Linked DNA regions of Homo sapiens: all the other regions are linked to region 1. The links are contacts of gene promoters, found by promoter capture Hi-C in blood cells and fetal thymus (Javierre and others, 2016). All regions are on one chromosome and are shown on one strand. Each heading gives the region's core, a stretch centred on a gene start or on the middle of the fragment in contact. The rest is flanking DNA. Distances are from core to core; before and after follow the strand shown. Region 1 holds the start of ALG2 (ALG2 alpha-1,3/1,6-mannosyltransferase). Region 2 has its middle 19 kb from the start of CAVIN4. Region 3 overlaps MSANTD3-TMEFF1 (MSANTD3-TMEFF1 readthrough). Region 4 has its middle 14 kb from the start of MSANTD3. Region 5 overlaps TEX10 (testis expressed 10). Region 6 overlaps TEX10 (testis expressed 10). Region 7 overlaps INVS (inversin).

Evidence for each region. Contacts are between HindIII fragments. The CHiCAGO score rates a contact against its expected background, and 5 or more counts as called.
Region 2: a contact is called between a fragment that was not itself captured here and the fragment with the promoter of ALG2 in region 1, in 10 of 17 cell types (fetal thymus, naive CD8 T cells, naive CD4 T cells and 7 more). The highest score is 15.7, in fetal thymus.
Region 3: a contact is called between a fragment that was not itself captured here and the fragment with the promoter of ALG2 in region 1, in 1 of 17 cell types (fetal thymus). The highest score is 5.9, in fetal thymus.
Region 4: a contact is called between a fragment that was not itself captured here and the fragment with the promoter of ALG2 in region 1, in 9 of 17 cell types (fetal thymus, non-activated CD4 T cells, activated CD4 T cells and 6 more). The highest score is 11.8, in fetal thymus.
Region 5: a contact is called between a fragment that was not itself captured here and the fragment with the promoter of ALG2 in region 1, in 1 of 17 cell types (fetal thymus). The highest score is 6.1, in fetal thymus.
Region 6: a contact is called between a fragment that was not itself captured here and the fragment with the promoter of ALG2 in region 1, in 1 of 17 cell types (M2 macrophages). The highest score is 5.5, in M2 macrophages.
Region 7: a contact is called between a fragment that was not itself captured here and the fragment with the promoter of ALG2 in region 1, in 1 of 17 cell types (erythroblasts). The highest score is 5.1, in erythroblasts.

The regions. Positions count from the first base shown.
Region 1 is chr9:99,220,097-99,224,296 of GRCh38, forward strand. It overlaps ALG2 (ALG2 alpha-1,3/1,6-mannosyltransferase), which reads right to left and starts at 1,846. Exons shown (of 2, transcript NM_033087.4): 1 at 1,451-1,846. The coding sequence starts at 1,798. It overlaps SEC61B (SEC61 translocon subunit beta), which reads left to right and starts at 2,186. Exons shown (of 4, transcript NM_006808.3): 1 at 2,186-2,270; 2 at 2,450-2,547. The coding sequence starts at 2,268. RefSeq lists an enhancer at 1,936-2,255. The HindIII fragment of the contact is 2,183 bases long and covers 893-3,075 here.
Region 2 is chr9:100,594,884-100,599,083 of GRCh38, forward strand. No RefSeq gene overlaps it. Among named protein-coding and RNA genes, the nearest start is that of CAVIN4, 19 kb to the left of the region's middle. RefSeq lists an enhancer at 3,864-4,158. The HindIII fragment of the contact is 747 bases long and covers 1,403-2,149 here.
Region 3 is chr9:100,473,897-100,478,096 of GRCh38, forward strand. All of the region lies in intron 1 of MSANTD3-TMEFF1 (MSANTD3-TMEFF1 readthrough), which reads left to right. All of the region lies in intron 1 of TMEFF1 (transmembrane protein with EGF like and two follistatin like domains 1), which reads left to right. Among named protein-coding and RNA genes, the nearest start is that of TMEFF1, 2.8 kb to the left of the region's middle. RefSeq lists a silencer at 1-38. The HindIII fragment of the contact is 6,579 bases long and covers 1-4,200 here.
Region 4 is chr9:100,411,008-100,415,207 of GRCh38, forward strand. No RefSeq gene overlaps it. Among named protein-coding and RNA genes, the nearest start is that of MSANTD3, 14 kb to the right of the region's middle. RefSeq lists a silencer at 625-714. The HindIII fragment of the contact is 2,626 bases long and covers 837-3,462 here.
Region 5 is chr9:100,330,043-100,334,242 of GRCh38, forward strand. TEX10 (testis expressed 10) reads right to left here. Exons shown (of 15, transcript NM_017746.4): 6 at 1-127. Among named protein-coding and RNA genes, the nearest start is that of TEX10, 21 kb to the right of the region's middle. The HindIII fragment of the contact is 1,553 bases long and covers 1,684-3,236 here.
Region 6 is chr9:100,311,315-100,315,514 of GRCh38, forward strand. All of the region lies in intron 11 of TEX10 (testis expressed 10), which reads right to left. Among named protein-coding and RNA genes, the nearest start is that of TEX10, 40 kb to the right of the region's middle. The HindIII fragment of the contact is 4,493 bases long and covers 234-4,200 here.
Region 7 is chr9:100,250,594-100,254,793 of GRCh38, forward strand. INVS (inversin) reads left to right here. Exons shown (of 17, transcript NM_014425.5): 9 at 1,690-1,845; 10 at 2,314-2,543. Among named protein-coding and RNA genes, the nearest start is that of TEX10, 100 kb to the right of the region's middle. The HindIII fragment of the contact is 195 bases long and covers 1,919-2,113 here.

The DNA of each region.
Region 1 (4,200 bases), core at 596-3,095:
CCTCCTTGGTAGGCAAACTTGGCAGTAGCTATTGATATTTAAAATGAACAACTCTTAGACCCACCAACTTTAGGAATTTCCTCAAACGACATATTTGCAGAAGTACAAAAATATTTTAAAAAAAAGAAGTAAAAGGATGTTCATTACAACACTGATCTATTCACAAAAAACTAGTCACAACATTAGTGTCCTTTAAGGAGAATGTTTAATTATGACACACTTAAACAAAAGTGGATTTTCTGGCCACTATGAAGAATGAAGTGAATCTCTAATATTGATACATAAGAATGTCCCGGCTGGGCGCAGTGGCTCATGCCTGTAATCCCAGCACTTTGGGAGGCCGAGGTGGGCGGATCGCGAGGTCAGGAGTTCGAGACCAGCCTGGCCAACATGGTGAAACCCCATCTCTACTAAAAATAGAAAAAATTAGCCGGGCGTGGGGCGCGCACCTGTACTCCCAGCTACTCTGGAGGCGGAGGTTGCAGTGAGCCGAGATCGCGCCACTGCACTCCAGCCTGGGAGACAGAGCAAGACTCCGTTTCAAAATAAATAAATAAATAAATAAATTTTTGCTGAAAAAGATGCCTAATAGTAGGTATGTCATAATACCAATTATGTACCAATAAGAAGATATAGATATACCTATGAAAAGACACAGGCTGGTGTCACCACAACTTCTGAAAAAATACAAGAGAAACTTAACGGTGGCTATCTTCAGGGAGTAGAATAGGACGGGGCTTTTAGGTTACATCCTTCTATACTACTAAATTTTTAATCGAGTAAATGTTACTTTTTAAAGTCATCTTTTTTAGGATGGGGAAAAATGCACGAAGGAAAGAGTCAAGAATAGCTACAGGGCAGATCCAGGTGGACATTATTTACCAAGGTAAAAAGCTTGAACTTTTCTCCAAAAACCAATGGGGAGCCATGTACAAGTTTTAATAGGGGCATGATATATTCAGCTTGGCGTTTTTAACACATGACACTGCTGAGGACGGTGTGGCCTGGCTCCGAACACAAGGACAGTGGGATGCAAATGGCCTGAAAGGAGAGTCAACAAAAATAACAGGTAAGCGGGAAGACAACACGCGAGTTACTCATTAGTAAAAGGTGACTGAAGCTGACTTCTAATACCAGCGTTTCTCAGAGCCCCAAAGACTATCTACCTCGGAATCACCCTATGACCCAGTTAAAATGCAGATGTCTGGGCCCCACCTCAGGGCACCTGGATGAAAACTTCCTGGAGGATGGAACCCCAGCAATCTGCAACTTTAAATGGGCCCACACTAAAGTTAGAGAACCACAGGCTCGCTCACAACCCTGACTTCTCCATGTCAGTTCCGATCTTTGCGAACCGCAGACAGGGAAGGTCTTCTCTCAGGGGTCATGCCCGCGGCCGCCCTCCACGGCGAGGTCCGCACTCGCGCAGCCGGCCCCGCGGCCGCCTCACCTGGTCGCACACTACCACGTCGAACTCCTCGTCGGCGAGGAACAGCACGTAGAGCGCCAGGAAAACCATGCGCACGTAGGCGCAGACGGCGGCGCCGCGGCCGCCCCAGCCCAGGCCTCGCGGCAGCCAGTCCCCGGCACAGCGCACCGGTAGCTCGCGGCTCTCGGCGAAACAGTGGCCCGGGTCGTAGTGCGCTGTCCAGATCTTCACGCTACACCCGCGCGCCTGCAGCGCCAGCGCCGCGTCCAACACCAGCCGCTCAGCGCCGCCCACGCCCAGGTCTGGGTGGAGGAACAGCACCGACGGCTTGGGAACCGAGTCCCGTTCCCGGCCCTGCTCCTCCGCCATGGCCCTGGAGCCGCAACTGCACCCCGCACCCTGATGGGGGTCTTCTGCGCAAGCTCCGCGCTCGTAGCTCCCAGCTGGCCACTGCGGGCCGACCCCGCCCTGCCGTACGTGCGTCAGTTAGGCCACATCAGCGCAAATCTGTGAGGGTCTAGTAACTGCCTGAGAAAATATCTTGTCTGACCCCGGTTATATTTTTCCTTCGGTAGGGATTGGACTTTCTGAAGGACGTTGTGATCCAAAGGAAGGAGGCCGGAGGTCTCTACTTCCCATACAGCAGGTAACTAAGTTGTCTGTAGCAGACTGTCTACAGGCATATCGTGAGACGACCCAGGCGTCCCTGGGGTCAGAGAGGACCTTGCCTGCAAGTCCGGGGGCGGGGCCTGAGTCAGTCTCGCCAGCTGCCGGTCTTTCGGGGGCTCCGTAACTTTCTATCCGTCCGCGTCAGCGCCTTGCCACCCTCATCTCCAATATGGTATGGCGGCCCTTCCATGATCCCCGCCTCTCCCAGAAGCCCTGACTCCTCCTGCTTTGCGCCGTGCTTTTCCTCTGTAGCTCCCTTGCTTCCCCCAGCCTCGGGTGTGGGTGTCTAGGCCGGGGTTCTGGGGCAGGCCTGCCGCGCTCACCCGTCTGTCTGCTTGTCTCCCTCTACAGCCTGGTCCGACCCCCAGTGGCACTAACGTGGGATCCTCAGGGCGCTCTCCCAGCAAAGCAGTGGCCGCCCGGGCGGCGGGATCCACTGTCCGGCAGAGGTAAGGAACCCTGCAGTTCGTTCGCTTCCAGACTCGGAGATAGGACCCAGAACCTCGCTGATTCTGGGGTGGAGACCCTAGCATGTGAAGATTGACAAAGGCAAAATGAGCTTCTAGTGACGTGGCCGTGGGAGTAGTTAAAGGCCTTTTGGGAGGAAGGCGACATTTTTTTTCTCGTTGCTCAGTTTAGGGCACTACTCTTAAAAAAGGAAAGTTAACAAACTGGAATAGAGTCAGAGATAACTTTGAGAAAACCGATGTCATTAAACTGGTGTCTCTGGACCTGAGGTTTGCACTCACATTTCCATCTGGCGGCCCCATAAGCAATCTGTCCTACAGATAACTCGTCCTACACAAAACTTAGTCTCTTTTCAGCTCAGCTCTCTCACTCTCAATTATATCTCCTTACTTCCATATGGCACTGTTGTACACTCATTTACTCAGAGCCAGAAACGTCAGCGTCATCTTGGATTTTTCTTATGCTCTTTCTCTCTCTAGTCATATGCCAGACTTTAAACTCTGCTTGAAAGCTTTCTCATAAGCTCTTTCCTTTTCCCTTTCTACTGCTTTGCATTTGCTACTTAACCCTTTTCTTCAGGCTGTTTGCTTTCCAGTCCATCGTTCGCTCTGCTGTTACTCTTCTGCGTAGTTTCTGTTACTTGTTGCTGAACTAAAAAAAACAAACAAACAAAAAAAAAAAACCGGGGGGATACCAAAGCTCTTAGTGGTCATTTCAGCCTAACCTTTCTTTTTCCTTTTTTTTTTTTTGGGATGGAATCTCACTCTGTCGCCCAGGCTGGAGTGCAGTGGCACGATCTCGGCTCACTACAGCCTTTGCCTCCAGAGTTCAAGCAATTCTCCTGCCTCAGCCTCCTGAGTAGCTGAGACTGCAGGCACGTGCCACCACACCCAGCTAATTTTTTGTATTTTTAGTAGAGACGGGGTTTCACCATGTTAGCCAGGATGGTCTCGATCTCCTGACCTTGTGATCCTCCGTCTCTGCCTCCAAAAGTGCTGGAATTACAGGCGTGAGCCACTGCGCCCGGCCTTCAGCCTAATCTTTCTTTGCTGTCCTATGATCCAGCACTCGTGAACCCATTACTGTTTTCTGAATTCACAAACTTTCTCCCTCATCTCAAGGCAAATTTCTACTTATTTTCCAAGACTAAGCTCAGGGGTTATTTCCTCTTGAGGCCTTCTCTGTCTGTAAGCAGCAGTAGCTACTAGTTTTCCCTTTTGCCCCCATAGCATTTTGTTCATATCATTATAAGACCAGTGATGTTTCCATATTTATCTCCTTCATTAGACTTTAACAGAGAACCTGCTCAAGTCATTTCTATCCCAGGTACCCACCATAAGGCATGACACAATAAATAATGACTGAAGGAAGGAATCAAGCAACCAAGTTGTTTTGGGATTTTTGAAGGAACTAGTGGGGTTTTATCTAGGGAGGAAAAAATCTTGAACACATGCATGGAAACTTCTGAAGGATGTGAAGAGGGATGTGACATTTTCTGGCTGCAACAGGTAAATCTAAAACTGATGATTTGAACTTACATGAAATATTTCACATCAGAACAAAGACATTCTAATAGAACTGGCAGAAATGTAAAATTATCCTGAATGATTTTGAGTTCCCTGTCATTGGGATGT
Region 2 (4,200 bases), core at 526-3,025, 1.4 Mb after region 1:
ACTATGTTGCCCAGGCTGGTCTCACATTCCTGAGCTCAAGCAATCCTCCCTCCTTGGCCTCCCAAAGTGCTGAGATTACAGTCATGAACCACCACACCTGGCCCAAATATCTCTCTCTTTGTAAAGCCTTTTAAAATTGTGTGTGCATTCTCTCTGAGATTCTGTAAGTGCAAAGGACTTACTGTGTTTCTCATTAATAAGATAATAGGTATTTAATAAGTATCTACTGAATGAAAACAAATGAATGCCTCTTTGAACTATGGCCTCTTCTCTGAATATCTTTGAATTAGGATCATTTATTTGATGAGTATTTTTTTGAGCACCTCATGTAAGCCTGGCACTCTTCTGGGAGTAAAGTAGTGAACAGAGCCCTTGCTTTCAGAGATTCCAGAGAAAGACTAGTAACTAGCAAATATAGTTATGTTAGGTGGTGATAAGTGCTGTGAAGAAGAAGTCAGGTAAGGGGGCAGGGCATTATGAGTGGGGGTGGTGCAGGCTGCCACTATTTTAGAAAGGGTGTCTGGGAAGGCCTCTGGTAAGGTGACCAGAATGTTTGAATCTGATAGTCAATCATTCAGGTGTTTCTAGGAAGAGTTTCAGTTGTGTTCAGGAGACAGTGTGGTTGAAATGGGTGAGGTGGGAAATGTGGGAGCAGTGGGGTGTCACAGGCTGTTCTAAGGACTTTGGGTTTTACTCTGAATAAGAAGGGGACCCATGGGAACGTGTTAATAAGAACGACATGATCCAATTTATTGTATTTATACTCATTGAAAAAATCCAGCCATTGTGTTCATACAAAAAGCTAACTACAGTTCCTGCCTTAGTTTACACTGCAAAGGAAATCACCCAAACTCCCAAGAGTTTTCCATTCCATGTCCGCTCCCCAAGCCTCACTGCAGCTCAAGGCTGACATCTAGTGGATATTTTCATAATTGTTTATGCACAGGCAGTTTGGAACCTATCCACTGTTGATTAAGAATAGAGGGGGAGGTTTAACATAGAAAATGACAAACTGGATGATTAGTAGAATACTATAGTGGATTTGCCTCTGTTTTTCTTTGGCTCTTATTCAGGTAAATTTACATTTATCTAGCATATATTAGCATGTATTAATTAGAACTGGGTTCAGCTGCCAGAGATTAGAGCATCAAAATCATGGGTTGGTAAGGAGGAGAAAAAGTATCAGGTGGGATGAGCCAGGAGAAAGTGTCCTGGTTCTAGTGGTGGCCCTCAAAAGGTAGCTGTGGTTTGTTGTATGGTGTTAAGGGTGTGTGTATTCCAAACCTGTGCTTGCATCAGGTTGGCATTGATTTACAAAGGGAGTCTACTGCGAAGGGCATGGTGGAATGAAGTTGAAGGCAGCATGGAGATACTGAAAGTTGTGAAGTTGAGTGTTTCCAAAAGCTTAGGTGGGGTATTTCAATGTACAATCAAGAGCTTTAGCTTTATAACTGGAAAATTGGCTTGTGTCTGCCATTTACTGACTGTGAGAACTTGGGCAAATTATATTATCTGAACCCAGTTTCTAAATAGTACCCACCTAAAGGTGTTATATTAAGCCAGATATTTTATGGAAAGCACTTAGCAAACTTAGCATTTAGTAAGCAGTCAAAAATAGGTGTTATTGTTTAGAGGGACTACAAGTAGCCTCTAGAGATAGAGAAGGAGGCTATTGTAATAGTGGTATCTGCATTGCATTTTTTTTTTTGCCCCTAGCATTTAACATTAACAGAATTTAACTTGAAACCATTTTGTAGATGTATATGATCCATTTTATCGACTTTGATTGTGGGCAGTTGCATATTCTGCTTAACTAAGACATAGCATTTTTACTACACAGAGATCACAATCATCCAGTGGCTTTCATAACTTTTAGGAAAAAAAGGCTCAAATATGAGCTCTGCAAGATCTGGCTCCTGCGTGCCTAACTTCATCCTCATCTCTTATTCTTCCTCCTCAGTTTCTGCATTCCAGAGACTGGCCTCTCAGGTCCTCCAATGCCTTATCCCACCTGTCTTAGGACCTTTGCATAGGCAATTCCATTTGCCTGTCCACACTCTTCCCACTCCCCTCCCAACCAACTAAGAATACACCTAGTTAACTTCTATTCATCTTTCAGATTCCATTGAAAATGATACTTCTTCAGGAAAGCTTTCCCTGCCTCTACGTCACTCCCTGACAGGGAAAGCCTCCCCTGTTACACAATAAGAACACTTATTGTAGTTTAAAAATATATATTTAGGTGGTTATTCACTCAGCTAGATTGTAAACCTCTTGAGCACTGGCACCGTGTCTGCTCAGCCCATTGCTCTGTCCCTGCCATGGTGCCTCAGATAGAGTAGTCTGAAAAGGGAGGGATTTTATTTGAAAGTTAAAATGTAGAAATAGATAAAACACTTGGTGACCGAGTATGAGGGATGTAGTGGGTTCTATGGTGACAATCACATTCCCTCTAAGACTTGGCACTCATCCCTCCAGATGCTGGGAGTTTTGACGGCTGATGGCTCTCGCCCAAGTCTGTCTCCAGGAATTGCCCTCAGCAGAGAAAGCCACCTCACCCAAGGTCATGCCCCCTCCTGAGAGCAGCCCACATTGAGTGACGGGTTGACTGAGGGATATGTGTGTGGCTTCTGGCTTCAGCGTGGAACAGCTCTGAAGGACCTTCCTGGGTCCAGAGCTTGCCATAGCATTGGCTGAGGCCCCGGTTTAAACCTCACTAAGTGTTCAACTCCTTGTCTCTGTCCTTCATCCTTCAGCCCTCACAGGTGCTGTTCATGAGAGCATCACTCAATAAGCCACCTACAATATCTCTGAGTCTGTTTCCTAGGGAAGCCAGCCCACAGCTGGGCATGATGGAGAGGGAGGAGTCTAAGGTGGCTCCTGGATTTCTGGCTTGAGACAGCACATGATGTTATCCAGTGAGAAGAGGGACAAAGAAGAAAGTGTACAGAAGTTGAAGCAGGTTTGCTGGAAAAGATATGTTTTGGGGGTGCTAAGTCTGAGGTGCCTGTGGGATAGCCAGGAGTTTGAAGCTCAGAGGAAAGATCTAGACTAGAGGTACAGATTTGGGAGTCATCAGCAAGGCAAAAACAATGGCATTAAGGAGATCTTCACCCCATAAAAGTGTGGAGTGTGAAAAAAAAACAACTAACCAGGAAGCATGTGTGTGGGAGCCAACAGAAATGGGCAGGGGAAGGAAGACACACTTCTGGCAAATATAGTGATCAGAGAGTTTGGAAAACCGGGAGTGTGAGCATTGTGGATGACAGAGGGATTTGCAGCAGTTTCAGATAGATGTGTCAGGAGCTGCAGAGAGAGCAGCATGGAAAAGTGTTCATTGGGGTGCATGACAAGGTCGCTGAGGACCTTGCTGAGAGCAGTTTGAGTGGAGTGGGTAGAAGCAGCCAGATTCCAGTGAGTTGGGGAGATGGGGTGGGAGGAGAAGAGACAAATGTGATAACCTTTGATAACGCTCATGAGATGGGGACAGGAGAGGTAGGTAGGGACAGAGCACAGAAAACAGGAGGGTATTTGTAAATGATGGGGGAGATGAGCTGAAGGAGAAGGCCCAGCCAAGAAGGGGTAAAGCGAAGGCCGCAGGTGTGGCAACTGGTTAAAATTCTTGAGCAGGTGGAAGAAGACTGAGCAAACAAAATTAATCCTGGAGAGGAAGAACCAAATCTCAGGCGCCAGAAGTGACGGAAGCAGGTAACAACAGCCACAATTTATTATGCTCTTTATTTAAGGCAAGGAACTTTAAGTACTTTAACCCTCACAACAAATCTACTCTCGAATACCACGCACCTGGCCGGAGCTGGTGGGGCTGCGGAGGCCTGGCCTCTCTCCCTGGAGCCCCGCCCAGTCCCCAGGTAGGCGGGGGAGCGTACGCTTCCGGCAGGACAGGGTGGTTCCAGAACCCACCGCTCGCTCTCTTGAAACCGGCTCCGCGGGCAGGAGGAGGGAATTTTGCATTTCCCGCAGTAAGCGCGCCGGGGCCGGGGAGGAGCCACATGAAAAGCGCTAATGGCGTAACGCATGCGCGCCGCGGAGAGCCGGTGCAGAGCCGGCGCAGGCGCCGAGGTCTGCGGGGCGGGTGTTCTCTTCCCGTCTCCGTCAGCATCCAGGTTCAGCGCCCGGCTTGAGTCCGGTTTGTTTTGTAGGAATTCCTGTTAATTCCTGTCGCAGTCTAGCCGTCTACCA
Region 3 (4,200 bases), core at 261-2,760, 1.3 Mb after region 1:
CGGTGTGGCTTTGGGACCGGCGCTGGGGATGGGAGTGGCCGTGGGTGCGTCCGAGTGTGTCGAGTGGCTGGGCGAGGGCGGCCCGGCGTGTGGGGAGGCGGTGGGGCCGGGGCCGGGGCCGGCGAGGCTGAGCGGCCGGCCGGGGCTCCCGGTGTGGTCGTGGGTGTGCTCGCGGGAGCGTGTGTTTGTGTTGTGAAGGCTGAGGGGAGGGAGGGCGGCCCCAGGCAGGGATCTGTGTGTGTGTGTGCAGAGTGCGGTGGGTGGGAGACGGCGAGGGGGCTGGGCGGGGTGAGGGCAGGGGAGTGACCATGTGCTGATGTGCTGGGGAGATTCTTCCTTAAGGCACTGGGGGTCTCGGGGGTGGGGGTCGTGTGGATAAAGGGAACGGGTTGTCTTGAGGACGCGGTTTGGCGATGCAGAGTGACTGTGTGTGTGCGCGCGCGCGCGCGTGTGTGTTCTTTGGGTTCTGAGATGGGATCTGGGGGCTTAGAGTGACCTCGGGTCTGTGGATATGAGCGGGGAAAGTCCCAGGGCCCAGGAAGTGACCCTGTGTTTTTGTGTGTTGTGTGTGAAGCCTGGGGCTCAGTTAGTCACCCTGGGGTATGCATTGAAGAGGAGGGATGGGTGCCCTATAGCGAACCCCATTTATGTCTTTTCAAAGGGGAGGAGGCTTGGGAGTCATCATCCTGTGTAGGGTTTGGATGTAGAAAGAGGAAATTAGGTCTCAGGGAATGCCCTTGTGTAGCAAGGTGTAACCCTGGGTTATTAAAGTGTGGAAAGAGAGAATTGGGTCCCAGGGAAGATGTCGTGCCTGTGTGTGTGTGTTTTGCGGGAGGGCCTGGATTCTGGCAGCAGCGGGGAGCAAGGGAGTGACCTCTCCCCTCTCTCCAAGGCCGCTTGCCCCCCCACAGCTGTTGGAAACAAAGAGCTTGCTGAGGCTTTAGTGGATAACACTGGGGAGGAGGGTCCCAGCAGTAAAGTTCCTCTTCATTTCTAAAGGGGTCCCAGAGGCGCACAAGGATTATGGCCCTGGGGCAAAGACAGGCATTCAGGTCTCATTTTTTGAGTGGAGGGTCTTCTTGGAGCTGGCCTAGCAGATGCTAGTGATCATAAGCCACATCCTTGCTAACTTGCCCTTTTATCAATTCTGGAGCCTTCTCTTGTCTTCTTTAAACCAAGGCGGAGTAGGGGGAGGAGGGAGGAACATAAGGCCACTGGGAATCTGCCGGACAACCTTTATACTTTTGGGCTCTTGAAGGGGCATTATTTCTGGAAGAGTGAGGAAGGAGCAAGAGAGTCTCAGCGCAGATGCTTATGCTACCCTAAATGAAGCAAGCCTTTGGCCCGCTATTTAGGTTTGAAGGCCTTAAATCTTTTAATAATTTTCATATGGTAATGTTTTATGAGGGGAATGGCAGTTTTGAGCACAGTAAACAATGGCATGTCCATTAAAAGCATTTCCATCCGTGAAAAAACTTTTCTGTTATTTTTCTGATGTTGAACGGGATATGGGGTAATGCTTTATTACATAATCATACTTTAAGAATAAAAACCAGTTGTATATTAGAGTGCCTTTTTATGTAACAAATATTAATTATCAAACTTGTAAGTGATCGCACCATGTCAATATTTTTCCAGCTAATGTGTCGCGGGTATTTGTTCTTGCTAAGCTAATTCGTTCTTAGCAAAATATAGTGTGTCTTGATGGGATGTTTTTGTGTGTACTTTCTAACTTGCATAGTTCAAGTTTTAAGAAAGGAAATAAAAGAAATAGAGGGATGGATACCCTTGAGGATGTGGGTTGGTGATGCAGAGCGACTGTGTGTGTGTGTGTGTGTGTGTGTGTGTGTGTGTGTGTGTTCTTTGGGTTCTAAGATGGAATGTAGGGGCTTGGAGTGACCTCGGGTATGGGCAGGAAAGTCCCAGGGCCGGAGAAGTGAACCTGTGTTTTTGTGTGGTGTGTGTGCGTGTGAAGCCTGGGGCTCAGTTAGTCACCCTGGGGTACTATGCATTGAAGAGGAGGGGTGGGTGACATGCAGTGTGGGAAAAAGGGGACTGATCTAGGGGTCATGGTCCTTGTTAAGCAGCTGTGTAATTTGGGGCAAGTTACTTAATTTCTCTTAGTTTCCATTCCTTTTAAAAAAGAGACTTGGATTTAGTAATATCTGAGTCTTCTTTCAAGCGTATTCATCACTGATATAAATGTCAATAAATTAAGCTGATCAAATAAAATGTTTTCTAGCAGTAAGATATACTTGAATAACTGGGTCTAAAGCTAGAGTTTTAACTAAGTGATACTTGTAGATTCTTATTGTAACTTTTTAGGATGAAGATTTGGGAACGATTCATATGGAAAAAAAATTTTTTTAGTTGGTAAGTTTGAGAACCATGTTAATACAGTCTGGACACACACATCTGTTAATGCAGCTCGAAATTGTGCACAGTTTGTTTAGTAGCTTTTATTATCTAGGTATCCCCCCACAAACTGAAGTTTACTCTGTCATGTTTTTTTTTTTGAGATGGAGTCTCACTTTGTCACCCAGGCTAGAGTGCAGTGGCGCAATCCTGGCTGACTGCAACCTCTGGCTCCTGGGTTCAGGTGATTCTCCTGCCTCAGCCTCCGGAGTAGCTGGGACTACAGGCGCCCACCACCATGCCGGGCTAATTTGTATTTTTAGTAGGGATGGGGTTTCACAATGTTGGCCAGGCTGATCTTGAACTCCTGACCTCAGGTGATCCGCCTGCCTCGGCCTCCCAAAGTGTTGAGATTACAGGTGTGAGCCAATGTGCCTGGCCTATTTCGTTTTTTTTTTTTTTTGAGACGGAGTCTCACTCTGTCACCCAGGCTGGAGTGCAGTGGGGTGATCTCTGCTCACAGCAAGCTCCGCCTCCCGGGTTCGCGCCATTCTCCTGCCTCAGCCTCCCCAGTAGCTGGGACTACAGGCACCCGCCACCATGCCCGGCTAATTTTTTGTATTTTTAGTAGAGATGGGGTTTCATCGTGTTAGCCAGGATGGTCTCGATCTCCTGACCTCGTGATCTGCCAGCCTCGGCCTCCCAAAGTGCTGGGATTACAGGCGTGAGCCACCGCGCCCGGCCTATTTCAGTTTTAAAACTAAATACAGCCCTCGATTCCCTGTAGATATTCATTTTTGGTTTTGGACCATCATTTCAGCCTACTGTGAGCTTTCTGGAGCTGATTCGGTCAGGCTGTGCGTGTTGGGTCACTCACAGGTTTTTTTCACTTGCAAATATGAAGAGCAGTTCTATGGCTTCATTAAATTAATAGAAGTTGTCTAGATTGTGAAAAAGGATGGAACCCTGCGACATATTACTGGAGACTTTCTACCAACTTGGTTGATGTTGTTACGTTAGTCAACCAGATGTTCAACTAGCTATGCATCCTGTTAGTTGAATTTAACAGATTTTCGAGCTTCTGCTGTTCAACATTTTCCCATTTTGTTCACCAGCCTATTATTTAAAAGATTCTTTCAGATTGTCTTGTTAGATTGTTATGTGTATATATCATCCTGTCATCCTCCCTTTTTCCATTTTAGTAATCCTGTTAAATAAAAAGCACATGTTGTATAGCCTGCCTTAATAAAGAGCTGATGGTGGCTTTCTCATTTTACTGTATTCGAAAACTTATTTATCCATTTTAGAATTTTTCAGCAGTTACATAGCAGGTTTACCCACAGATGTTTTTCTGGATCTGCATTCCGCCTTTTTTTTTTTTTTTTTTTTTTTGAGATGGAGTCTTGCTCTGTCGCCCAGGCTGGAGTGCAGTGGCATGATCTCGGCTCACTGTAACCTCTGCCTTCCAGGTTCAACCAGTTCTCCTGCCTCAAGCCTCCCGAGTAGCTGGGACTACAGGCGCACACCACCACGCCCGGCTAATTGTTTGTATTTTAGTAGATATGGGGTTTCACTGTGTTGCCCATTCTGGTCTCGAACTCCTGAGCTCAGGCAATCCGCCTACCTCGGCCTTCCAAAGTGCTAGGATTACAGGCATGAGCCACTGCGCCCGGCCTGCATTTCTCCTTTTTTGAAATTTGAGCATGTGTTTATTTCTATTTATTTGATTTCTGGTCTTCTGGCACCTTGTCAAGGTAGCTTAGATAATTTGTGGTAGTTTTTAAGGCAGATGTAAAAGTTTTTTCAGCATCATGGAGTGTGAGTTATTTGGATCAGAAAGCATAT
Region 4 (4,200 bases), core at 900-3,399, 1.2 Mb after region 1:
GAGCTCCTAGAAAGCGGACTTAGCCTATTTTTGTATGCTATATATCACATAGCCTACTGTACAGAGTAGCTGCTCATTTGTGTTTCTTATATTGAGGTAAATCTGAATCTTACCTGGGCCAAACTCTGCGTTAGGATCTGGGTATTCAACTGTCAGGGGACTCAAGTGTGAGCAAGACCTTGTCTCTACCATCCTAGATCATACAGTCTTAGGAGGACATTGACACTAAAAAAGGCCATTACATGACCCTCAGATGAATGCGCATGGGGTAAGTACGGGTCCTCTGGATAACAGAGGAGCATGGAATGGTAACCCTAGAGACAACCTGGTGCCATTCCTGCTAGATACCGACATCTCCTATATGAATTTTGGTGGTGGGGTGAGGGGATAGGGAAATGGGGGCTGTGAGCAAGGAGGGAGGTTCCAGGAACATCTTTCACATCCCCTAGTCCCCATTTCCTTCATGAACTGCTGTATCCATCAAGTGCGGGTACGCAGGGAGCACAGTCGTTGTGCCAGGTGGGTGCCAGCACACAGCAGTCATTGACATTGTACAGACTTCTGGAGTAAATGGAGGGATGGATGAAACACTTGTGCAATCGAAATTTTTGCGACTCCTTCCATTTGACAAGTACGGTCCACGCCATTCATTCCCCAACCCAAAGCCCGCGAAGCCCCGCAGCTTACACAGAGGCCCCGCCCAACCGCCCCGCTCTGCGCGCTCCCTCAGCTCCAGCGCAGCAGCTCTGGGAGACACGCTGAACGGTAGTCAAGTTCCGGGTCACAGTGCGCTTGCGTAGGAGGAGCCAGTGGCGAAGAAGGGGAGGAGCTCGCGAAGCTTAGACTGCAGTGACGAGGAAAACGTGGATGGGATAGGAGCAGGAAAACCTCTAGGGCTCTGTGGGGTTAGCGCTCTTGGGGCCGTTTAGTGGGTGTCCCGGGGGTACTCAAAGAGAACCCGTCAGAGACTGACCTTAGTTTACACACGATGCGTCTTTTACTGCTCACATCGAGTCTATTGATTTTGCTTTTTTTTTTTTTCAATTACTTTAGTGGTCAAGAATTGCTGCTTTGCAGTGAGACAGATCCAGATTCCAGTGTCTGGTGTGACTGTGTGTGGCCTTGGGCAAGTTATCTGTCCAAGTTTCAATCGCTACCTGTATCAAATGTAGTTGATTGTAGTTGTGTGCATCACAGGGATTTTGTGAAGATTAAATGACGTCGTATGTATCAAGGGCTTAGCGCACTGCCTGGTACGCAGAAAAAGCCCAGTAAATGGCAAGTGCTATTATAACCATTATCATGAGGTTGGAGGATCGCTTGAGCCTGGGAGGTTGAGGCTGCAGCGAGCAGTGATCGCCCCACTGCCCTCCAGCCTGGGCAACAGAGTAAAACCCTGAAAAAACAAAACAAACAAACAAAAGCCCGGGGGAAACAAATCAAATGTCCCCGTATAAATGATAAACAAAATGTGGTATATACGGAACCTTATTCAGCCTTTAAAAAGAGTGAAATTCTGATGCAAGTTACAACATGGACAAACCTTGAAGACACTATGCTAAGTGAAAAAAAACATACACAAAAGAACACATGTTGTATGATTCCAGTTACATGAAGTATCTGGAATAGTCAAATATTATACACAAAGACAGATGAATAGAATAATGGTTACCTGAGGCTGCAGGTAGGGCAGAAATGAGGAGTTAGTGTTTAACAGGTGCAGAGTTGAGGATGATGAAAACGTCTGGATGGATGGTGAAAATGGTTGCACAGCCATGTGAATGCACTTAATGCCACTGAACTGTACACTTAAAAATGGTTAAAATGGGCCGGGCGCAGTGGCTCACGCCTGTAATCCCAGCACTTTGGGAGGCCGAGGCGGGTGGATCACGAGGTCAGGAGTTCGAAACCAGCCTGACCAACGTGGTGGAACCCCGTCTCTACTAAAAATACAAAAATTGGCTGGGCGTGGTGGCGCGCACCTGTAATCCCAGCTACTCAGGAGGCTGAGGCAAGAGAATCGCTTGAACGCGGAAGGCAGAGGTTGCAGTCAGCCGAGATCGCGCCACTGCACTCCAGCCTGGGCGACAGAGCAAGACCTCAAAACCAAAACAAAACCAAAAAATGGTTAAAATGGTAAATTTTATGTATATTTTACCACACAAAGAAAAGGAGAGGAAAGAAGCCCAGGAGCAGGCAGCGCACAGCGGGAGTGCATGGCAGCTCAGCTCAACAATGCTCTCAGGCGCTTAGGGTCCTTCTATCTTTCAGTTTACCACTCCCAGCATGTGACTTTTGTCCTTGTGGTCATAAGATGATTGCTGCTTCTCGAGGAATTGTGTGCATGTACTAGATAAGAAAAGCCAAAAGTCATCTTCTTGTGAAGTTTTATATTTTCATTCAAGAAAAGGAGCCTAAGGGAATACCCGCCTGCTACTCATTGACAGGAATTTTATCAAGTTGACCTCTCAACAGGAGTCTGGGAAAGTTACTTTTCAAGTGTCTAAAGTATAGAATGGCACAATAAAGGGGAGCTGTGAGGTCCCCCTTATCATGCCATTCTATAGATACTTGAAAGGTAATTTCAAGTATCTAAAGTATAGAATTTTCAAGTACAGAAAATTTGAGGCCGGATGTGGTGGCTCATGCCTGTAATCCCAGCACTTTGGGAGGCCAAAGTGGGCGGATCACCTGAGGTCAGGAGTTTGAGACCAGCTTAGCCAATATAGTGAAACCCCATCTCCATTAAAAATACAAAAAAATTAGCCGGGCATGGTGGTGCGAGCCTGTGGTCCCAGCTGCTCCGGCGGCTGAGGCAGGAGAATCGCTTGAACCCGGGAGGCGGAGGTTGCAGTGAGCCGACATCGCGCCACTGCACTCCAGCCTGGGAGACAGAGAGAGGCTTTGTATCAAAAAAAAAAAAAAAAAAAAAAAAAAAAAGGAAGAAAATTTGAGTAGCCAAATTTTCAGGGAATGTCCCACAAACATAGAGGTTTATTTTGCTTTTTTCCATAAATGTGCTTATACTGCATATTATTTTTTGCAACTTGCTATTTTTTCTTAGCAATATGAATTAGAATTCCTCAGTTCCTTTAGCTGCTGCAAAATACTCTTGTTTCTAAGGCACACTTTTTTATTCACATTTTATGATCTCTCAGATTGGTATGCATCTTACAGTTGCTGTCAGCTAGCAAGGCAGCAATAGTGATGTGGTTGTCATTGCCTGCTGGGTATGCATCAAAACTTGCAGAATGGAGGTTAGCAGCCTGGCATATTGATGATTCTGAGTCTAAACATTATACAGAAGGTTCAGACTCTGAGAAGAGGATTTAGCTATATGGTAATCAATTTATTTCATGAATCCTTTTAATTTATGCATAAGGATAATATGGAACTAAAGATGTCTTAAGCCTTAATTAGCTTTTTCAATAAGTATAAAATAAAAATTATAAATGGCAAGAAAGCTTTGTGTCATAGCTTAATTAGGATCATTTTTCTTTCTTAATGATGTATGAAATAACGAAGGCTATAGCGGGTCACATCCTCGAGTTAATGAAATACAGTGTTCTTTTTTTTTTTTTTGAGACCGAGTCTCGCTCTGTGGCCCAGGCTGGAGTGCAGTGGCGCGATCTCGGCTCACTGCAAGCTCCGCCTCCCGAGTTCACGCCATTCTCCTCTCTCAGCCTCCTGAGTGGCTGGGACTACAGGCGCCCGCCACTACGCCCGGCTAATTTTTTGTATTTTTAGTAGAGACAGGGTTTCACCGTGTTAGCCAGGATGGTCTCGATCTCCTGACCTCGTGATCCGCCCGCCTCTGCCTCCCAAAATGCTGGGATTACAGGCGTGAGCCACTGCGCCCGGCCGAAATACGGTGTTCTAAATATGACTATTCCATAGCTTATTTAATCATTTCCTTTTTGATAGAAGTTAGGTTTAATGATGCTTTAGGAAACCCTTGTGCATGCCCTTTTTTGCATATGTGAAAGTAGTCGTTCTCTAGATACCTAGGAATACACATTTTAACATTCTGAGAGCAACTGCCCTTTAAAAAGCTCCTATCGATTTACACTTCCATGAAAGAACCCATTTTTTCCAAACAGTTTTACATTTTGGTCAATCTGGTATCTGAAAATAGTACATCATTGTTTTGATTTTGTCTTTTAGTGTTGTTAAGGGTGTCTATAACATAGAAGCCAATTT
Region 5 (4,200 bases), core at 1,210-3,709, 1.1 Mb after region 1:
CATTTCTATCCAACTGCAATCCTTCTGCAAAGTTGACGCATTTGCCAGGGAGACCATGATATCAGACAGTGTTAAATTCAGTAAGAGATGATCTATGTTATTGGAGAGAACTGTGCAATGCTTGATGCTAGAAACAAAGACACACACATCTATAAAGCATTACGTCTACCATGCCTGCTTCATTAGAATACTTAAAATAATCTATCAATGGAGTTTTAAAAAATTCCCTTCTAGAATTAATAGATGGCCAAGAAGATAGGTGCATAGGCAAGACTTAGGCCACAGTTCTATAAATAAACCATTTCATTATGGAATCAGAGTTGTTAAGAAGGTACAGAGTGTATACAGCTCAATTCATTACTCAAGGTGCTATTCACACAAAATGTAAATGCCCTTATAATATTGCCTGGGAACTTGAAAAATAAGACTTAAAAACCCTGACACACCTGATTTAAGGCAGATGCTTATATTTGGATGGAAATCACAGTAGATCTTGGCTCTGCTTTTAACTAATCATCTGACTTAAAAGAATCACTAGTCTTTCCTGGCCATAACTTTCTCACATGTGAAATAAGGAGACATACCCCGGTAAGCACTGATTTGAAACAATTTTATAATTCACATATTAATATCAGTTTATTCACTCTAGCCAAACAAAACACAATTTCAAAAAATCTAAAATAAAATATTTTAATAAAAACAAAATTTGCAACTTAGAACATACTCATTTCAGACTGTGGTATATTCAACAGCAGAGCTTATTTCTTTCATGTTTAGAAAAACATAAAGCTGGCTGGGTGTGGTGGCCCATGCCTGTAATCCCAGTGTTTTGGGAGGATGAACTGGGAAGACTGCTTGAGGCCAAGAGTTGGAGACTAGCCTGGAAAACACAGCGAGACCCCATCTCTACAAAAAATGAAAGTAAAATTAAAGCCAGGCATGGGAGCTCACGCCCGTAATCCCAGCACTTTGAGAAGCCGAGGCAGGTGGATCACCTGAGGTCAGGAGTTCAAGACCACCCTGACCAACATGGTTAAACTCTGTCTCTACTAAATACAAAAAAAAAAAATTAGCCGGGTGTGGTGGCACATGCCTGTAATCCCAGCTACTTGGGAGGCTGAGGCAGGAGAATCACTTGAACCCAGGAGGCGGAGTTTGCAGTGAGCCAAGATTGCGCCATTGCACTCCAACCTGGGCAACAGGAGTGAAACTCCATCTCAAAAAAATAAATAAATAAAAATAAAATAAGCCAGGCATGCTGGCAAGTGCCTGTAGTCCTAGCTACTCAGGAGGCCAAGGCAGGGGCATCACTTAAGCCCAGGAGTTTGAGGTTACAGTGAGCTATGATCACACAACTGCACTCCAACCTGGGCAACAAAGAGAGACCCTATCACTAAAAAACAGAAAAGAAACATGTAAATTTGACTAAAGCCATAAATATCTCAAGCCAATCAATTTTAAAGGAAAAGATTAATCCTAGTTAGTCTTGAGCAAGGGCACAGTAGTGAGGAACCACAAATACATGAGAAGGGAAATAAAAGAAATCTGGCATTATCAAGCATCAAATGTTAAGACCCGGAACGACAAATGAGCCTGGAAAGGTAAAATGAAACCAGGTTACAAAGAGCCAGAGGCTAAAGACATCAAAATTAATTGTGTAAGCAAGGGAATAACATGGTTGCAAGCTTCTTTCAGAGACATGATTGTGTGGATACGAAAAGGACAATGAGTTACAGCCTATAAACAAAGAAGCAGCACTCCAGACAAGAGATGGCAAGTCCAAGAACCAGGGTCAATACTGGTATGAACTGGGAGAAGGAGAGCATTTACAAAGAAGAAAAATTAGCCAGATTTGAAATATGCTTAAATATATACAAATATGTGAGTCTGAAGATGGTGGAGACAGGAGGAGTAATCATTAAGGGTTCTAACAGTAGTGACTAAATTCAGAGATGATGAAGAAAAAGGGGCAGAGAGATCTAGAAATTAATTCTACGTTGGATATGTTGAGCCTAAAGTATCATAATCAAATCCAGACGGAGATGGCCAACAGATAATTCAATGTACAAGTCTGACACTGGAAGAAGTCTGAGCTATTTAATAGAAATTACCCATATGACTGCTCCTAGCTGCAAAGAAAACTGGGAAATCTGTTTTTTATTTTGTGTAGTGATACATTCAGATGAAAATTAAGAATCCTATCATTAAGAAAAGAGACAGTAAACACTGGGATAGAATTGCAACATTTCTTCCCCACAGGTAGAGCTTTGGAAAATTTACCGTAAGTTTATCTCAGGCAGCATAATCTATTACAATCCGGAAAGTCTCAATGGACATCTGCAAACTTGGGAGAGTTCCTTCTGCTCCTCCAATAACATATACAGAAATTTCAAAGACTAAATATACCAACCAACAATTCTAGGAGGAAGGCAGATCTCTGATGAAACTTTAACTTCCAGTAAAGGTAGTATAGGTAATTATAATATTGCTCAAAACAGGCCGGGCGCAGTGGCTCACGCCTGTAATCCCAACACTCTGGGAGGCCGAGGTGGGCGGATCACGAGGTCAGGAGATCGAGACCATCATGGCTAACACGGTGAAACCCCACCTCTACTAAAAATATAAAAAATTAGCCGGGCGCGGTGGCAGGCACCTGTAGTCCCAGCTACTCAGGAGGCTGAGCCAGGAGAATAGCGTGAACCCGGGAGGTGGAGCTTGCAGTGAGCCGAGATCATGCCACTGCACTCCGGCCTGGGTGACAGAGCGAAACTCCATCTCAAAAAAAAAAAAATTGCTGAAAATAACTAGAAGTGCAAGATTCCAGCACTCAAGGTTTAGTCCTGAGGGCAACTGCCAGTTCCAAAGAAAAAAGCTGCAAAACTAAGGCAACCTTTTAGTGGCCCCACAAGAAAAGAAAGTCAAAAGTCAAAGCCTAGGGCCTACCAAGACATTCCTACCTGTTTTTTGTTTTTTTGTTTTTGAGACAGAGTGTTGCTCTGTCACCCAGGCTGGAGTGCAGTGGCACGATCCTCCCACCTCGGCCTCCCGGGTAGCTGGGATTACAGGAACATGCCACCACACCCAGCTAATTTTGTATTTTTAGTAGAGATGGGGCTTCACCATGTTGTCCAGGCTGGTCTGTAACTCCTGACCTCAAGTGATCCACCCGCCTCGGCCTCCAAAAGGGCTGGGATTACAGGTGTGAGCCACTGTGCCCGGACAACATCCCTACCTTAAGCTTGGCCCTTAAAGGTTTCTCTCCCAGGAAAGTAAAAATAAGTCAAGATAAACCTGAATCCTAGTTCTGCATCATTCTAGCAGTTTAAGGAATAATTCTTCCTAAACTAATCTATAGATAGATTCAACACAATCCAAATCAAATTTCTAGCAAGCTATTTTGTAATTGTTGACAAAATGATTCTGAAGTCTATATGGAAAGGTCAAAGACCCAGAATACCAAACATAAGACTAAAGCAAAACAAGCTGGGCATGGTGGCTCATGCCTGTAATCCCAACGCTTTGGGAGGCTAAGGCGGGAGGATCCCTTGAGCCCAGTTCAAAATCAGCCTGGACAACATAAGAAGACCCCATCATAAAAAAAAAAAAAAAAAAAACCACAACAAAAAAATGCACTAAAGCAAAACAAAGCTGGAAGACTCACACTCCCCATTTTCAAGACTCCCAATAAAGCTACAATAAGCAAGATAAGATGGTATTGGTGAAACAATAAACATACATAAATTAATGGAACACAGTCCCAAAACGGACCCATGAAAATAGTCAACTGAACTTTGACAAATGAGCAAAGGAAATTTAATGGATAAAGTACAGTCTTTCCAATGAACGGTGATAGAACAACTGGAAAGAATTCTAGAATTGAAAAATAAAAAATGAAAATTCAATGGACTTATGTTTGACTACAACTGAATACAACTAAAGAATTAAAAACTGGAAGAGATAAAAGATTAAAAAATAGGTGGAGGATTCAGTAAGTAGATGTAACATGCATTAAATTGGTCTTGAAAGGGAAGAAGAGAAATTGGCAAATGTTTAAAAGATAATACGTTTTTCAGAAGCGATGAAAAGACATTTCATTCAAGATTCAAGATCTCAGATATCCACTAAATCCCAAGCAGAATAAACAGAAAAGAAAATCACACCTGGATACATCACTGTGAAATTGCAGAAAATGAAAGACAA
Region 6 (4,200 bases), core at 1,230-3,729, 1.1 Mb after region 1:
AGCCCAGGAGGTTGAGGCTGCACTGCAGTAAGCCATAATGGTGACACTGCACTGTAGCCTGGATGACAGAGTGAGACACTGTCTCCAAAAAATAAGTGTTATTCAAGGACCTGCCGTGTATGTCATTTCTGTTTCCTAAAGAACCTACTGAGGATATTAAGTGAGGGCATACTGTATTTCTATTGAGTGCTATGACAGAAAGATCTGAGTGATATGAACAAAGGGCTAACAAAAGCTTTTTTTTGCCCACCTGATAGAGAAATGTATCACAGAAAAATATTTATGACCCAGAAAATACAAATATCCTGTTCAATTTAATCATAACACTGCCTTCTCTAAAGGTAAAAAAGAAATCTGCACAAAAAGTAGAGAGTTAGAAGTAAAACCCCTAGTATTTTTAATTTCCTAAGTTCTCAGAAAAACAAGAAGAGTCAAGAACAGTACTAAGTCCTTCACAGATATCAGTCACAGCACAAACTCCAGAATCTGATACAGTATACTACCAAAAATGAAATATGTAAAAACATCACATGAAAAAACAAGAATGGTAGAAGGATGAATATCACTCTAGGAAGAGATCAGTCAGTTAAGTTCAAGAGAGCTGTCATCTAGCCCTGAAAAATCAAGACTTTTTATACTTGTTATTTACAGATTTGAGAGTGTGTGGGGGGGGGAATCAACAGATCTATACATTATTTCTCTGTAAAATATCTTGTAGATATTACCCAGATATTTTACTTGGTAACTTCTTTTATACCATTAAGTAACAATGAGAAAAAACTCATTTCCAAGGCCATCTTCCTACTCCAAAACAAACATGGTGAATATTTTTATTAATCCAAACCACATTTGAAAAGTGCACATTCAATAATGACCACTTCATCACTTCCCTTCTGCCTCCCCTTGCTGCCCTAAACAATTCAGTTCTAAAGCCAATGGCTGGAGCCAAACTAGGTAAACTCTGGCACTGGATTTGGTGGGAGTGCTGAGATGGCCCAGAGTAGACAGCCCGAAAGAACCAGAGCCCAAATGGAGTGAGATGAGAGGGGTGGCAGCAAAGGAAGACTAATTATAGACAGAGAAGCTGATCAAGTAAATATATTAAGTATAACTGGAGCCAGGTTTCTATCAGAGAAAGCAGGTACAAAAAAGAAACAGGATATAACTAGAATAAACTCTGTGGTGTTGAATGACTACTTTATGTCCAATAAGAGGATACGGGAGAAGCAACATCCAACAGCAATAAGCACACCTAAATTCCACATGTTGGTTTCTAAATACCATTCTCCACTGTTTTTTGCAGAAAACTGGTCTGCCATAACTACTCTAATATAATCTCCTCTTTCACAAATAGGAGACTACCTGAACTCTCCCCAAGTATCATACCAAGAAAGTTACATGTGCTACCATAACCGTATAGAAGCTGAGCTTTCCCTGAGAATTTACAAGTCACCATACAGACCCTGAGAGATAAAAGCAAGCTGAAAACCTAAAATAAACGTAAGATTTCAAGACCTATAAGTAAACACAGTACCAGGCACTATGGGTAATAAAAAGAGGATGTCATTGGCATGACCCTAGCATTGTGACCAGAGTCAAACAAAGCCATGAGAGAAATAAGTTAAATATCTATAAAAGATATAGTCCCTAGAGATAGGAAGAACATGAAGGTAATTCAAAATAAAATGAATTTATCAAGTAAATAAATTCATTGGTATACCAACAACAACAACAAAAGATTAGGTTGTAACTTGAACCTAGAGACTACCCTGTTGACAACACTGTCAAAACTGGCTAACAAAAAATAAAATTAGCCAGGAGAGAATATTACTTCATGAAAAAATGAAATCAAAATTACTTAGGATGACATAATTTTGCATTCTCACTGGACAAGCACCTTTCAACATTAAGAAATAGTGGCCGGGCATGGTGGCTCATGCCTGTAACCCCAGCACTTTGGGAGACCAAGGCAGGTGGATCACCTGAGGTCAGAAGTTCAAGACCAGCCTGGTCAACATGGTGAAACCCTGTCTCTACTAAATATACAAAAATTAGCCAGGCATGGTGGCAAGCGCCTGTAATCCCAGCTACTCGGGAGGCTAAGGCAGGAGAATCGCTTGAACCCGGGAGGCAGAGGTTGCAGTGAGCAGAGATCGTGCCATTGTACGCCAGCCTGGGCAACAAGAGTGAAACTTGGTCAAAAAAAAAAAAAAGAAAAAGAAAAAGAAAAAAATTTAAGAAATAAAGAATAGGGTCGGGCACAGTGGGTCACACCTGTAATTCCAGCACTTTGGGAGGCCAAGGCAGGCAGATCACTTGAGGTCAGGAGTTCAAGACCAGCCTGGCCTACATGGTGAAACCCCGTCTCTACTAAAAATACAAAAGCAGGTGTGGTGGTGCATACCTGTAATCCCAGCTACTCAAGAGGCTGAGGCAAGAGAATTGCTTGAACCCAGGAGGCAGAGGTTGGCAGTGACCTGAGACTGTGCCACTGCACTCCGGCTTGGGCGACAGAGTGAAACTGTGTTTCCAAAAAAAAAAAAAAAAAGAGACACACACATAGGAACGTAGCCTTCTTTTCTCAGCGTGTCCCTGTATGGTTTTGGTATCACGTGATACTGGTGTCACAGAATGAATTAAGGAGAATTCCCTCTTCCCTCCTTGATTTTTGGAAACAATTTCAGGAGAATGAGTATTAGCTCTTTTTTGTACATTTGGCAGAATTCAGCTGTGAATCCATCTGGTTCTGGGCTTTTTGTTCTTTGGAGATTTTTCTTTTTTTTTTTTTTTTGAGACAGAGTCTCGCTCTGTCACCCACGCTGGAGTGCAGTGGCACTGTCTAGGCTCACTGCAACCTCCACCTCCTGGCTTTAAGCAATTCTCCTGCCTCAGCCTCCCGGGTAGCAGGGACTACAGATGCATGCCACCACACCTGGGTAACTTTTGTATATTTAGTAGAGACAGGGTTTCACCATATTGCTCAGGCTGGTCTTGAACTCCTGACTTCGTGATCCTCCCACCTCAGCCTCCCAAAATGCTGGGATTGCAGGCATGAGCCACTGCGCCCGGCCTGGAGATTTTTTTATTACCAATTTAACCATACTACTCATTATTGGTCTGTTCAGATTTTCTGTTTCATCCTGGTTCAACCTTGGGGAGTTGTATGTTTCCAGGAATTTATCCATTTTCCCTCTAGGTTTTCCAGTTTGTAGGTATATAGTTGTTTGTAACAGTCTTTGTGGTATCAGTTGTTATGTCTCCTTTTCATTTCTTTTTTTGTCTATTTGGATCTTCACTATTCTTCCTTAGTCTAGCTACCGGCTATCAATCTTATCATTTTGAAGAACCAACTTTGCATTTTGTTGACCCTTTGTATTGTTTTTTGATCTCTATTTCATTTAGTTCTGCTCTAATCTTTGTTATTTCTTGTCTTCTGCTAATTTTGGGCTTGGTTTGTTCTTACTTTTCTAGTTCCCTGAAGTGCAACGTTAGGTTGCTGATTAGTTATCTTTCTCCTTTTTTGATGTAGACATTTAATGCTATGAAGTTCCCTCTCAGCACTGCTTTTCCTGTATCTCATGGGTTTTAGTATGATTTGTTTCCATTTTCAATTGTTTCTAAAATGTTTTGAATTTCTATTTTAATTTCTTCAGTGACTCAATGATTGCTCAAGAGCACGTCATCGTTCAGGTGTATGTTGTTTGATTTTGCAATACATTAATGCAAAACGATGTATTTGCATCATTTGTAAAGTTCCTCTTAGTACTGATTTCTTATTTTATTCCACTGTGGTCTGAGGAGATATACTTGGTATGATTTTGATTTTTTAAAATTTGTTGGGACTTGTTGTGACCTACCATATGGTCTATCTGGGAGATAGGTAGTTCTATGTGATGATGAGAAGAATGTATATTCTGCAGTTTGTTGAGTAGAATATTCTATAAATGTCTGTAAGGTCCACTTAGTCTAAAGTTCAACTTAAGTCTGATGTTTCTTTGTATTTTCTTTCTCGATGATCTAATGCTGAGACTGGGGTGTTAAAGCACCCCACTATTATTGTATTGCTATGTATTTCTTCCTTTAGGTCTAGTAATACTTTGGAATCTGGATGCTCTGGTGTTGGGTGCATATATACTTAGTGGTGTTGGGTGCATATATATTTAGAATTGTTATATCCTCTTGCTGAATTGATCCGTTCAT
Region 7 (4,200 bases), core at 766-3,265, 1.0 Mb after region 1:
AATCCCGTAGCAAGTCCTGTTGACTCCACCTCCAAAATGTGTTCTAAATCATTCTGTTTCTCTTCATCTCCATTGCAACCACCCTAATCAGACCACCATCATTTTTCACTCAGTCTACTGCCAAAATCCTTACTGGTCTCCCTGCTTATATTCTAATCTACTACAAATACTTTCTCCTCAGAAGAGCTAGAGTGATCTGTTTAAAGCATAAATCAGATAATATCACTCCACTATATAAAGCCCTTCAAATGTCTTCCATCACTGACTGATAGGACCATTTGTGATCTGGCCTTTTCTATGTTTCTGACTTACTCCACTGTCACTTACTGTGCTGCAACTACCCTTCCTTCCTTAAACATACACAGTCGTTCCTGTCCTGTACTAACTCTTCCCTTTGCTCAAAATACGCTGTCTTTTTCATGGTTCAGGTCTCAACTTAAATGTCAGCTCATAACCACCAATCAAAAGTAGTCCCTCAGTGATTCTACATATCAAAATAGTTTTTATTACTTTAATTATACCAATTATCACTATATAATAACTTTATTGATGGGGAATTGTTTTGTTTTTGTTTTGTTTTGTTTTGTTTTTGTTTTGTTTTGCTTCCCTTCCTAGAATGTAACCTTATCTATTGTATTCTTTGCTAAACACCCAGCATTATAATACTACCCAGCCCAAAAATCTGCATCCAGGTTTGCTCTGTGGATCACCCTTTATGAAAGAGACATTGTTCTAGGCCTTATAGAGCCATAATACTTAGAACTGGCCAAGGCCTCTAAAGTGTTATTGTGGCTAATTCAAACCTATAGAGGGATGGCATAAGCCAAGCATTACACTGGAGTAACATAGAGAGGAGTCAGTGTACATGAAACACATTTAATCAAAATTACTCTTTAAAACCTCTGGACAGCACAAGAGAGGAGGCCATATTCCATCTCAGTTTTTCTCCAGTGAAGCAAATTCCTGTTTCTTTTCTTTTCTTTTTTTGAGATGAGGTCTTTCTATTTTCTCCAGACTGGTCTAGACCTATTGGGTTCAAGCAGTCCTCCTGCCTCAGCCTCCCAAGTAGCTGGGACTATAGACATGTGCCACCTCGCTGTTTCTTAAATTGAGCCCTGGGGAAGTAGCTGGCTTGTAGCTGATATTGTATTAAAAATGCACTCAATGCAGCAAGATGTGCGTGCTTTCAGTACCACTGGGGTACTTCAGCCAACTGAAGGAACAGTGCATGTAACCAATGGAAGGAACAGTAGATTGATGTCTCCAGTCACATGACCCCTTAGGGGCATATGCTTATTGAGTGGGTTGTTGGGCAGAATTGTGTACATCATTTAAATCATTCCTCTTTGTTATTGTTTTCTTGCTCTCTTAAAGAGAAAAAGAGAAAACTAATAGCTGAAAAGAGAAAACTAGTAGCTGAGAAGAGGATACCATTTCAGACCAACAGGATGGAAAGGAAGAAAATAGCAAGAAGAGAAAGGTAGAAGGAAAGGAGAAAGTGTGAGTAATACATATGAATAGGAAGGAAGGCAGAATCTAAAAAAGCAAAAAATAAATTAGTGAATCCTTAAAATGGAGATTGCATTTATTCAAAATGATGGGGAAATCAAGAGAGGAAAAGACATATAATAATTTAAAAGGTGAAGTTGTTATTGACTAGTTCATCACTTTCTGTTGGTTCCCTTTTAGCTTTGCATGCTGCTGCTCTTTCTGGCCATGTCAGCACCGTGAAGTTATTACTGGAAAATAATGCTCAAGTAGATGCTACTGATGTTATGAAACATACTCCACTTTTCCGAGCCTGTGAGATGGGACACAAAGATGTGATTCAGACACTCATTAAAGGTGGGCTAATAAGAGTACTCCTAATAAGTCTCTCTTAACAGGTAGGAATTCTTGCATACTCTGTTTAAGATAAAGCTTTCCTTAGCAGAAAGCTGCACAAGTACAAGGATGAAGGGATGATCACACAACATGGCATGAGGAACCTCAAGTTCTACTCCTAGCTCCACTTGTTGGGAGTTGCTTGATACAGGAAAAGTAATTTCACCTGCCTGATCTTCACTTTTATTTTATATAAAGGGGGACTGATTCCTAGCCAGTCCAATTTACAAGCTTATTGTAAAAATCTGATGTAGACAACGTATGTGGAAGCATTTCCATAAGAATAAAGCATTAAAGGAACAATTGTTATTGTTTTTCTTCTATTCATTTTAATAAATGCATTTAAGGAACAATTGTTTTTTCTACTCCTACTCATTTTAATAAAAGCTATTTATATTAGACATTCTCATTATATTTGTGCTTTTCCAGGTGGAGCAAGGGTAGATCTAGTTGACCAAGATGGACATTCTCTTCTACATTGGGCAGCACTGGGAGGAAATGCTGATGTTTGCCAGATATTAATAGAAAATAAGATCAATCCAAATGTCCAGGATTATGCAGGAAGAACCCCTTTGCAGTGTGCAGCATATGGAGGCTATATCAACTGCATGGCAGTTCTCATGGAAAACAATGCAGACCCTAACATTCAAGACAAAGAGGTAGAAATTCTGTCTTTTCTATATTGTTTGCTCCAAAGAATTTAGAGTATTTCTTCTTTGTTGTAAACATAAGTAAAACAACAGTTTACAAGATGAAGAGATCACCCACAAATCCATCTGTTAATCATGACTATTATTTGTCCATGTTCTCTTCCAGTCTTTTTCTATATATATAATTTAACATAGTTATAATATAGGCTGGGAATAATTTTATAACTTTTATAAAAGATTACATGGCATACACATGTATGCATCTATAAACATAAATATATGATTTTCTTTTTTTTTTTAATTATACTTTAAGTTCTAGGGTACATGTGCACAACGTGCAAGTTTGTTACATATGTATATATGTGCCATGTTGGTGTGCTGCACCCATTAACTCATCATTTATATTAGGAATATCTCCTAATGCTATCCCTCCCTGCTTCCCCCATCCCACACCAGCCCCCGGTGTGTGATGTTCCCCACCCTATGTCCAAGTGTTCTCATTGTTCAATTCTCACCTATGAGTGAGAACATGCGGTATTTGGTTTTCTGTCCTTGCGATAGTTTGCTGAGAATGATGGTTTCCAGCTTCATCCATGTCCCTACAAAGGACATGAACTCATCTTTTTTTTGTGGCTGCATAGTATTCCATGGTGTATATGTGCTGTATTTTCTTAATCCAGTCTATCATTGATGTACATTTGGGTTGGTTCCAAGTCTTTGCTATTGTGAATAGTGCCGCAATAAACATACGTGTGCATGTGTCTTTATAGCAGCATGATTTATAATCCTTTGGGTATATGCCCAGTAATGGGATGGCTGGGTCAAATGGTATTTCTAGTTCTAGATCCTTTAGGAGTCGCCACACTGTCTTCCACAATGGTTGAACTAGTTTACAGTCCCACCAACAGTGTAAAAGTGTTCCTATTTCTCCACATCCTCTCCAGCACCTGTTGTTTCCTGACTTTTTAATGATCGCCATTCTAACTGGTATGAGATGGTATCTCATTGTGGTTTTGATTTGCATTTCTCTGATGGCCAGTGATGATGAGCATTTTTTCATGTGTCTGTTGGCTGTATAAATGTCTTCTTTAGAGAAGTGTCTGTTCATGTCCTTCGCCCACTTTTTGATGGGGTTGTTTGATTTTTTTCTTGTAAATTTGTTTAAGTTCTTTGTGGATTCTGGATATTAGCCCTTTGTCAGATGGGTAGATTGTAAAAATTTTCTCCAGTTTGAAGGTTGCCTGTTCACTCTGATGGTAGTTTCTTTTGCTGTGCAGAAGCTCTTTAGTTTAATTAGATCCCATTTGTCAATTTTGGCTTTTGTTGCCATTGCTTTTGGTGTTTTAATCATGAAGTCCTTGCCCATGCCTATGTCCTGAATGGTATTGCCTAGGTTTTCTTCTAGGGTTTTTATGGTTTTAGGTCTAACATTTAAGTCTTTAATCCATCTTGAATTAATTTTTATATAAGGTATAAGGAAGGGATCCAGTTTCAGCTTTCTACATGTGGCTAGCCAGTTTTCCCAGCACTGTTTATTAAATAGGGAATCCTTTCCCCATTGCTTGTTTTTGTCAGGTTTGTCAAAAATCAGATGATTGTAGATGTGTGGTATTATTTCTGAGGGCTCTGTTCTGTTCCATTGGTGTATATCTCTGTTTAGGTGCCA